Regions from separate parts of the Homo sapiens genome. Here region 1 is linked to region 2. The links are contacts of gene promoters, found by promoter capture Hi-C in blood cells and fetal thymus (Javierre and others, 2016). All regions are on one chromosome and are shown on one strand. The core of a region is centred on a gene start or on the middle of the fragment in contact, and the rest is flanking DNA. Distances in the headings are between cores, read along the strand shown. Region 1 overlaps LINC02762 (long intergenic non-protein coding RNA 2762). Region 2 holds the start of ANKK1 (ankyrin repeat and kinase domain containing 1).

Region 1 (5,159 bases), core at 777-3,276, 1.1 Mb before region 2:
ACTAAAACTTATTTGTGAGTAAAATTTTCATCTAAGTGTTTTCCATATAAAAACTCTGTCAGCTACTGCTCCATTGTAGTAGACACAAAAAAGTCAGCACAATTTTCATCCCTCCCTCCCTCCCTTCTCTTCCCCTTCCCCTTCTTGCCCTCCTTCCTTCCTTCCTTCTTTCCTTCCTTCCTTCCTTCCTTCCTTCCTTCCTTCCTTCCTTCCTTTTTCTTTTGTTTCTGAATGTACAAAGAAAACACTTAAAAATTTGCTTGTAATTTAAAAACTTGTCAGGATATTTCTGGATTTGAGTGTTTCTTGGTTACTTTTACCTGGAACCTGGTGAACTGAGTCCATTCCTCTGTTTGCCCTTTCTGTACTTTTTTGGAAAGTTTTCTTTAATTATATCTTCAATTATTGTTTCTCTTTTGATTGTTCTAGATTCTTCTTCAGAAACATAACTCTTAGGCTCAATCTCTATTCCTGGTCTTCCATAGCTATCGTCTTCTTTTTAAAGTACTGTATTTTATTGAATCTAAGCTAGTATTTGTTGTAAGAAGCACTATTATTATATGTACAACTAAGGAAGAAAAAATGCTGCCAATTAAACTGTGACATAATGCCATGATTACAGTCCTGTGAAATTGGTAAGTTGCTCACACCATTCTCTCTCTTATTTTGATAGACTTCATCTATTTTGAGGGACTTGGCAGTTGCTCCTGCCTTTGGTTGCATTGTTTGGCATGTGACAGGCAATTCTTTTTGCATGAGTCTCAGTTACAAAACATAACACAGTTTCTACTTAAGGATACCTTCTTTTCTTGGGTCCTGTCAAGCACTTAGTTTAAAAAAAAAAAAAGAATTGCAGTGGTTGGTCCAATAATAGACATTTGCTTCAGTAATATCAAATTACATCCTGCTGCTTGAATTCCATGCCTTTCTGCATACATAATAACTTCTCATTTCAATGCCAAACCATAGTGTAATCTTTTAAAAGACATTTTAAATGGCAATTAAACTCACATGTAATTGCAACAATGTATACAACTCAATTAAAGTGCTAACAACATGAACAACTGAGACCAAGTTCACCCATGCCCAGGTCTTGATGACCTCACCATGGCAGCTCCCTGGCCCAGGGTGATTATAAGATGCCAGTGATTGCAAGACTTGGCCTGATTTCAGAAGTGATGATGTGGCAACACAGACATCTTAGAATTAAGGAAATAGTTTTAATTCTTGGTGCTCTTTCTTGGCATTCTGAAAGTGTTCCTCCAGTTTGCCATCTAAGATATTCCTTAGTTTTCTGCCATGTCCATTTCACTCATTTACTCCTTCCTATATGACTTTTAATTATTGTTTAATAATTTAATTTTCTTGGGAATATCTTTCTCTTGTTACAACCAGTTTCCTTTATATCTTTTCTTGGACTCCATTGGCCAAATTCTCTTTCATAAGCCTGAAGCCCCTAATATTTACCCTGAGACTGTATTCTAGTTAGTAGAATGTGAATGGAGGTGATGTGTGTGACATATAGGACTTCCCCATAAGAGCCTTTAATGAGTTGTCCTCTGTTCTCTTTCCCCTCTTCCAGCTGAGTGCCATGAGAGGACAGTGACAACCTTGGGGCCTCATGGTGAAGGTGGCAGAAACTTTGTTAGCCTGGGTGCTCAGGGTGGACAGCTGCTCTTGCCAACCGGGAACATTTGCCTTGAGCTCTTTTGTAAGTGACAGATAAGCTTTTATTGTACTTCAGCCAAGATACAAACATTGGACGTATTTGTACAGCAGCTAAAGGTACTATAATAATACATATTCTGAAATCACTATGTACCCTAAAATATTTTAACAAAATTCTTGCAATATTTGTATGAGAACTGCTGGATTTTGCTTTCTTACCAAATTTGCTGTTGCTACTGAAAAAAGAGAATAACTTGGACAATGAAATGATCTCAAATGAGGTAATAAAATCATTACTGAATTTTAACAGTCCCATCATTTCTGCCAAAAAAAAGAAGCAGCTTTAGAATGCCATTCTTCTCCAGTGGGTGTGTGCTGGTCTGATTTGCTCGGACGTTTGCAGAGGGAAGAACACTTACAAGTAGTAAGGGGCTGAAGTCTGAGTGGATCATATCTGAATATTGTTTAATATTGTTTTAGATGACATATTTTTTAAAACTCCACTCTTCTAGCTAACTGCTTTCTCTTGATATCCTAAAAGTTTTGCTTCACTGTTTATTTTAAAAGAATCACAATTAGGTCTAACATAAACAAGGGAGCCGGCCCCCCATCACACTTTTGTAAGAACCTAAAATGTCATCTCACATGCCAGTCTTTGAAGCTTATCCTGATATCAGTTTAACTCAGCTTGTTTTCTGTATCTATATATCTATATGTATTTGTGTGTGTGTATATATATATGTATGTGTATATATATGTTTTTCAGTTTCAATTTCATAGGGCCATATTATGTTTTTATATTATAAATGCCAGTTTTAAAACATTTTCTTCTGGTTTCTATAGTAAGTTATCTTCAGAAGTGTGCTCTTTTTCTTAGTCTTCTGGGTGAGGCTCTGTTTCCCTTATTCTCTTATGGTGAATGCTGTTTTTCCATAGGCCTCCTGAGGGTTCCCTCCCCTATATCCCCAATTCCAGCCTGGCACATTGTTTACCTTTAAGCAAGTAGAGCTCCATGGAGCCTTGGTGCTTGCTTGCTAAAAGAGGAAGTGTAGACTGTGCAGATTGTCCTTGGCTTTGCTCACTGCCTTATTCCTAGGTCTGTAGCTGAAGGTCAGTTGTGGTGCACAGCTCCCCAGAATTGAAGGGCATTCATCTTGTGCGGCCCTGCTGAACTGGCATGGGATCTCTCCCTTCCTCTTCTGCCTATTCTCTAACAAACAGAACTGATGGGGGATGTGAAAATCTTACTCTCCAGCACAAACTACCTTTGTGCTTCCTATAAGGCATGCTGTGTGGAAAAAATGCCTTCCAAAACATGACGTGCCATTGCTAATCCTCTTCCCCTTCCTACTCTGTGGTTTCCCAGTAATTGCATTCTATGAATGGATGTAGATAGAGGGAGAGGGAATAGTTCTCCGGCTCCTCCAAAGAGTAGCAGTCATAATAGAGAGCCAGGTTTTCATTTGGCTTGGTCCTGGGTCTCTGAACTGGGGGTAGACAGTAGGAGAGAAAGAAAATGTCTATCATCTTTCGAGACAATGTGCTGTTCTGTTTTCTAAGGCGAAGCATGGACTGTTTGTCTCAATGCAGCTCAGCTTTAGCAGCTTTATTTAGTTAGTAGAGATTCCTTCTAGATTCTGGTAACAGGTTGTTAGTCTTCATTTTCATTATTGTTGTGAGTTTTTGTCATTTTTCTGTGTAATAAATAATTTAGGGAGAAGTTTGGAGACACTTTGTCAGGAACTTCTAGCCAAATGCCATTTTAAACTCTAAGTGGACCTGATTTTATTTTACTTAAAAAAATTAGGTCTGGGAATGAGTTCAGTTTATTTATTCGTCATGTTCTGCTTGCCTTAAACCACTTATGAAGTGTCCGCGGCCTCCAAGGTTGCCTTCCAATGCTTTTCTACATCTCATTGCTGCCTGCACCTTTGGAGGAGGCAGGGTGAGTGAGACCTTTTTTGGTAGCTTGTAGCCATGCCAAGCAGTCATCAGATGGTGGGTAATTTCTTTTACCTAGGGTCTCATTCACGGTTCTTTGGTTGTTAATAATAGAAACCAACTACAGCCAGTTGTGGGGTAGCGGGGTGCGGGAAGGGGAAAGAGTACATTGTGATACTGGGATATCTTACAAGATCCCAGGACAATTGGGCCTTTTAAGAGGTGGGACTGGGAGCTCTGAAGCTGTTAGGAGCCCATAGTCCTTGTTCATTCTCTTCCTCTGCATCCCTGTAAAAGAAACATTAATTGCAAACAAAGTCCTGTTCAGGGTGTACATGTGACTTTGCTCCTCACGTGCATGGCATAAAATGGATGCCCCATAGCTCCTGAGTTTTCCTCTTGTTTATCCAAGTAACCAGCTCAGATTGACTGGATGCCTCTAAGTCCTAATTTCAGACTCCCAGGGAGAGAGAGAACTGGATGGGCTTGGGTCACGTGACCACCCTAGTCCAGTCGATATGGATGTGTGTCTGTGTATGAGATGGTACAAGCATGACTACTGGCAGTTGTCAGAGAAAGGGGCTTATTTTGAACTCGGCAAGTCCCTGCCACCCTTGGCTTTTGGAATCAAACCCCCTAGACCCAATCCTAAGGGGAGCAGGAGTTCCTGGCCATGTGTTCCTTGGGCAGAGTGGAGCACTCGTCTTCCCACTGTGCTGTGGGGTCTTGGGGGGCTCTCGTGAAGAACTGTTGAGTAATTTATAAGACCGCACACCTGCATCTCCGGCTGACTCCCATTACATTTTCCTTGGCCTTGTTCCCACTCCCCTCTAATCAGAAAGACTCTTTAATGAGAGATCCACATTTTGCAAACTTCCTTTCTAGCAGAGACATTATTTGGAAACCAAAGTCTTCCTTCAGTTCCAAAGTGGGACCAGTCAAAGTGGATGTGGCCCTTCTGCCACCGTTACTTTTTTCTATGCAGGTAGAAATGGAAATAGGTTTTTCATAGATACATGCAATGGCATTCCGCTGAAGTTAGCAATGTAGGGAGAGCACTGGCCTAGGGGTCAGAAGTTCAGATTTTGTTCTTGACACTGCCTTTCATGTAAAACTTCAAGACTTTGAGCAATTTTACAAATCAACCCAAATCTCAGTTTTTAAATTAATAAAATGGGGATAATATTTTCTTTGTTTATCATCTTATCAAGTGCTTTAAATATGATCAAATTTCTATAAATAGAAGACATTCTTTATTACATGCCTTTGCATGGACTATTCATCACTTTCTAACAAAATTCCAATGGTTAATAGAGATTTGAGGTTTGACAGCAGCAGGAGAGGTGGGAACATAGAAAGAGTGATTAAATAATCCATCTAATCATATAAGGTAAGTTAGAGGCAGAGCTGGGGTTAAGCCTTAAACACAGGTCTTCTCCAGGTCCTGTTTTTTCCCAGCAGACCCTCCTGTCTCAGTTTGCAGTTGGCCCATCCTGATCTGACATAAAAGAAGAGACTCCATGTTGAGATCCAACCAGAGCGCTAGGCCC
Region 2 (5,824 bases), core at 2,179-4,678:
CAAAAGGTTGCTGTAAGAATTATAACCTTTAAAAATATCCTAGGTATATTAAACTAATATGATATTATATTGTATTTTTATGTTATATTAGTATAATATTATACTAATATACTAGGTATATTTTTAAAGGTTATAATTCTTATAGCAATGTTTTGGAATGGTTATTATGATTATCATCTATTTTACAGATGGAGAAACCCAGAAAGATTTGATAATGTGACCAAGGTTAAACAAATGCTAAGTGATAGAAAGAAGCCAGGGTTTAAATGCGGGTCTGACTGACTGACTCACTCCCACATTTAAACCCTGTTCCTATTGCCTCATTCAATCCCTTTCACTCTGGGAGTCCTGCTTCCTGAACAGATGTTCCACTTTCCTGCATACATTCCTTTATCCTGACCAACCTCAGTACACAAGCTACCAGAGGCTGGGGCCTGCCAGAACCTGTCCAGGGTTCTCCGTGACATGTTTGCAGGGTGGAGAACAGGGGCAGACTGGGAAACTTCCCTATATGCAAATAGCTTGTCATTCCGGTTTGGGGAAAGGCTCACATCAGATTTCAGCATCTTCTAAAGTATTGCAGAGCTCCTGTACCAGCTCACTTGTCTGGGAGGAGCAGGCTAAAAATCTTAGGTTCCCCAAAGACAATCACACATACACACAAAATTCATTTAATAACTCCAAATCCAGAACACTTCCATCTTCAATCTGCCCAAACAAAATGCACTGATAGAGGTTAGTTGGAAGGACTCAGAGCATTTTGGGGTAAAACTTCTATAGCTAGAACCTGTTCCTTGCCCCTTCTGGTGGGTGGGGGTCATAATTGGACTATAACCACTTCATTATCCATTCCCATTTGTAGGTAGATATGGGTAAAGGTAGAGTTTCCCTCCCAACCCCCCAGCTCTCTCCCCTCCACACACTGGCTGCTGACTTCCCAACCAGCCAGGACCTAGGGACTTCTGCACTCAGACCACTGGAAAGAAACCAGCAGCCTCTGAGTTGACTTTACTCTTTTGCAAATCCCTATACCTCACCCCACTTTTAATGAGAGATCCAGGAGTTCTTTGCCTCTGTGACCTTATACTCAGAAAGGGTCCCTCCACTTACAACTTCTCCCAGAGCTTATCCAAAGACTACTAGGCCTTTGCCCTAGCCCATGTTAGACAGCTGTAAGGAGCAGGACAAGCCCAGTCAAATGATCCAGTCCCTCTGGGTCAATGAATGTATCTATTTTGACTGACTCCTCAGAAGCCTCAGGGGTGCTTGAACCCACAGCAGAGAGTTTCAACAGGTGGGTCAGCAGTAATACGCCCTGACCCTGCAGTTCCTCCACCTCCACCCCTGTGAGAAATTCAGAGGTATTTTGTTCGGGATTCTGGCAACATGCCTTGAGCCCTGGGTGTCCCCTCTTCTAGGAATGATGCTTTCTTCAGTATTCCTGTGACAGTCTCTGCAGGCAGACAATGGCAGCTTCTGGTTACTTCCTCTCCCTGGAGAGCCACTTCAGGTATAAGTGGATCAAGGGGAACTGCTGAAATGACTCAGGCCATTCACCCTTGGTATTTCCTCCAGGAGCTGAGATAGGTCTCGCTGAATGTCAAAGATCGGGCCTCAGTCAAACTTCCGCAGAGCTGGGTGGCTGGTCACCTTCCCAGTCTCCATGTTCACCCTCCCAGTAGAAGGTATGAAACATCCTCTTGACCTCCTGGTCTCCCTGATGACAATGTCCTTTATCACCTTCCAAACTTCTCTGGCAGAGGCTTTAAACTTGGGCAGGCAGGGCTACTCCAGAGACAATGGGTTCTGTTATGCCCTGTCTTGCTCCAGCCAAAGCAAGCTGGGGGCCTCCCTCTGACATATGTTTGGGGGATACGTCCTGCTCCTGATGCAGTTTCCATCATCTCCACCCTCTTCCAGGGAGCATGACTCTCTCTCTTCCTTTTTTGTATTCATAAAAGGCTACTCCCTGATCCTCCCCTGGCCAACCATTTCCATAGAAACTAAGAGACTTGAGTTTGAATATCAACTACCACTTACTAGCTATGTGTCCATTGATTACTTATTGTCTTGAAGCCAGTTTCCTCATCTGTGAATAGAAGATGTTGACCTCATAACATTGTTGCAAGATAAACAGGATAATATATGTAAAGCAATGCAGTAACTGAAATAGTCACTGATCCTGGAACAAAGTGAGTGTTCAATTAGTAGTGGCTATCACTAGTTTCTATGACAACTGTCTCCAGGCCCAATCTTTGATCCTTAATCTGCTTGCCAGAATTCATCCTGGAAGTTGCAGGTAAGTTGTTACAGAGGGAGCAAGTTCTCCAGCTTCCACAGGGAGTCTCTGTTTGCCTATCATGCCTACACTGTTCCCTGGGAGTCTGGTGGGCTTGTGGCATGGACGAGGGGCTCTGCAGGTTTGGGCTGAAGGCAAGGCACTTCCTTGTCTGGTAGGTAGGCTCCTCAAACCTAACAGTGATCACTCTGAGGGCTCCTTGTGGACTTACTCAGCTGTAGGCAAATAGTGGCTGACTCTGCACTCCGTGGCCACAGTTCCTCCAGGTATGCCTGTCTCTGGGCAATGGCCCACTTGGTCAGTGCCCCTGGGGAGACCTGTCTGTTCAAGCACTTGTCATTTTCCCTGCTCTGAGGGTCTCCAAGGTGAGAGGGCAATCCCATGGACCCAGGACCCAGGGGAACCTCCAAGCTCAGCACTGGTCAGGCTCCAGCTAGAGCCTCCTCTCATCCCTGGCAACAAACTGCCCCTAGTAACTGCGCCAAGGAGGCCACCTCCCCCGTGGCCACCCCGAGGCTGGGGTCCATCCCTCTGAGGTTGGATAGAGCGCAGCCCAGGAAGGGAGTCCCCTGCAGACAGGAGCCCAGCCTCCCCCGCAACTCTGTCCCTGCTGACCCCTCCTTGGTAACCTATAGCACACCAAGGCTGGCTAACAAACAAACAAACAAAACCCCAACAAGAACAAAGGAAACATGAAACCAGTCAGACCAACAGATTCAGACCAGAAAATCCCCATTAAAATTGTTTGAGCCCCATACTTGCTGGATAGGGGCAGGGGTCCAGGCCTGAATCCTTCATAAACCATAAAACCTTGAATGCACTGAAGGAATGCATAAACCGATTTCACTTAGCGCTGGGCCTAAATAAACTGGATCCAACTTCTCAGGCTGGACTTCTTCCAGCTTCGGGACACCTTCTCCCAGCATCCCTCCCTAGGGGGAACTGGGGAAAATCAAAGGCTGAGACAGGGGAAATGCGAGGGCTTCGGAGGGACATACCCTCTTCCCCAGGCCCAGGTCGCTCCATCCCTGCTGGGGCCTCAGGGCTCATGTCTGGGATTTCCCCACCTTTGCGGGGCAGGAGCGGCTCCTCTTGGGCGGGGAAGGAGGCAGGGCCGGCTCGTCTCCCCATTCCCCTCTCCCGGACCCGAGGAGCAGGAAGCGGCGGCTCCTTCGGCCACCCAGGCAGCAGCCACAGCGGGGAGTGCGCGGCGCGGGGACAGGAAGAGAGGGGCAATGGCTGCCGACCCCACCGAGCTGCGGCTGGGCAGCCTCCCCGTCTTCACCCGCGACGACTTCGAGGGCGACTGGCGCCTAGTGGCCAGCGGCGGCTTCAGCCAGGTGTTCCAGGCGCGGCACAGGCGCTGGCGGACGGAGTACGCCATCAAGTGCGCCCCCTGCCTTCCACCCGACGCCGCCAGGTACTGCCAGCCTCGCCCTCCCCTTTCTCGGAGGAGAAACTGAGGCCCGGCAAGCTTTGGGCCCAGGGAGCTTGCGAGGAAGGAGTGGGCTGAGTTTGGGGCTGAGGACTGTCCCCCGCGGTATTTCTGAATTCCACCCAGTAGCCTGAGCCTCCCAGGCACACCCATACCTGTCTCCCTAACCAAAATAGAGTTGGCACATAATACCTGTTTGTAGACTCAACAGAGGTCAAAGGCAAGCGGGAACTACCTACCAAAGACGCCTTTATCCCATCTGACCTTCCGAACTTGTCCTGCCTGCTTCCATCCTTCTCTCCAGCGCCTTCTTCCCCCGGTGTCCTGTGGCAATAACTGCTCTTGACCGCTCTCTGCCATCCTCCTACCCACCCCAGCTCTCAGGGCAGGGCTGAGCATCCTGGGAGGCTGTGGCACTTTGCTCAGATCTGCAGGGAATCATGTTCTCTCTTCCCACGGTGGCGGGAGGGAGGAGGCCCCTCCCAATCAGTGCAGGCTGAGGAGGTCAGGGGATGGAGACTGCCCGGCCTGATGGCCTGTCCAGGCCCTTGGAGGGTCAAGTCTGGAGTTCTCTCATCTCTGTTTTTGTTTTTGTCCCTTGCTGTCATGCGCACTACAGCGACGCCTTGACATGCCCCTATTTTTCTCTTCCTACCTCTTTCCTACGTTTCCATTATTCTCTGTCTTCCCACTGATTTGGAATCCAGTCTCATTCCCACTGGAGTTGCATATACTAGCTGTGTGCTTGCACCTTGCAGCCATGAAGAAGACACTCGGGATGTTAAACCTGAGCATGATAACCATGTCCTCCTCCCAAGGCTCTGGGACATCAATTAGAGAGTCCGGGACGGGGGTCTCTCTGACTGGCATCTGGCTTGGATGCTATCTGTGGTTCTCTAGGATTACCATGCAAACTCTTAAGATACAGCCTCAGGTGCCACACACTCAGTTCCCAGGCCTTCCCCCACCTTATGAGGAGAGGAAAAATAAGATCGCCTAAGGCCCACTCACCTTCCTCCCTCAACATCTGCCTGTTGGTTTTGGAGGAGGGTCAGAGTATGCTAGGATTTGTCTAAATCATTTATAGCCTTTTGAATATAGAACGAAAGGAAACAGATGGCAGTGACATGATTACACTGTGAGACATTGATGCTAACTCCTGCCACTTTCCCTTCCCAAGTTCTGGGAATTCCCTGGGTGGAGGGGGTAAGATAATTAATGGTAATTAAGACTTAGTATGTATGGATTACTATACTAGGAGCTTTACGTGCATTACTTTACTAGATCCTCTTTCCAGCTATTCATTCATTCATCCACTTGACAAATGCTTACTGCTCTTCTACTATGTGTCAGGCACTGTTCTACACCCTGGGATTAACGATGAATGCAACAGATGTGTCCTTTCTCTCCGGGAGATTGCAGCCTAGGGGGAGGAAGACATTAACCAGATAACCCCACATGTAAATGTAAATGTGCTACTGTGAGAAGCTTAAGAAGGGGAGATTTGTGGCTCTAGGAGAGCTCATTAACAGAAAGTTTGACTGATATCAGAAAAGGCTTCCTTGAAGAAGTTACACTACAGCTGAAATGTGAAGAATGAGTATAAGTTAAGTAGGTGAGGAGGAGAAAGTTTTCCAAGAACAGACAACAGAGTGTGCAAAGAATCTGTGGCAAGAGGGGCATGGTAAGTACAAAGATGGGAAAAGGCCATGATGGCTGGAGTTGGGAGAGTAAAAGAGCAGTGGAAAACCACTGAGCATTTACAACCAGGTAGCGGTGGTGACCATGGGAGGGATTAATCAGAATTGCAGTATGGAGAATGCATTGGGAGGGGTAGAGTGGATTCTGGTTAAGTTAGGAGATTGTTATCTTCATTCTGATGAGAGACGGATAATAGGGGCTAGAGTGGAGTGTTGGTAGTGGAGATAGGAAAGGAATGGGTCAAGCCATATTTAGAAGGTAAAAATCCACCCGACTTGGTGCTGGATTAGTCATGGGGAGGATCACGATGAGGAAGAGGGGTATTAAAGCTAACTTGATGTCTGGCTTGCCCAAAGGAATGGAGGATCCACTAAAATGTCCACTCCATG

What was found. Contacts are between HindIII fragments. The CHiCAGO score rates a contact against its expected background, and 5 or more counts as called.
Region 1: a contact is called between a fragment that was not itself captured here and the fragment with the promoter of ANKK1 in region 2, in 1 of 17 cell types (naive B cells). The highest score is 5.0, in naive B cells.

The regions. Positions count from the first base shown.
Region 1 is chr11:112,292,145-112,297,303 of GRCh38, forward strand. LINC02762 (long intergenic non-protein coding RNA 2762) reads left to right here. Exons shown (of 4, transcript NR_126004.1): 2 at 1,583-1,785. Among named protein-coding and RNA genes, the nearest start is that of LINC02762, 24 kb to the left of the region's middle. The HindIII fragment of the contact is 602 bases long and covers 1,726-2,327 here.
Region 2 is chr11:113,384,351-113,390,174 of GRCh38, forward strand. ANKK1 (ankyrin repeat and kinase domain containing 1) reads left to right here and starts at 3,429. Exons shown (of 8, transcript NM_178510.2): 1 at 3,429-3,719. The coding sequence starts at 3,535. The HindIII fragment of the contact is 6,156 bases long and covers 1-3,771 here.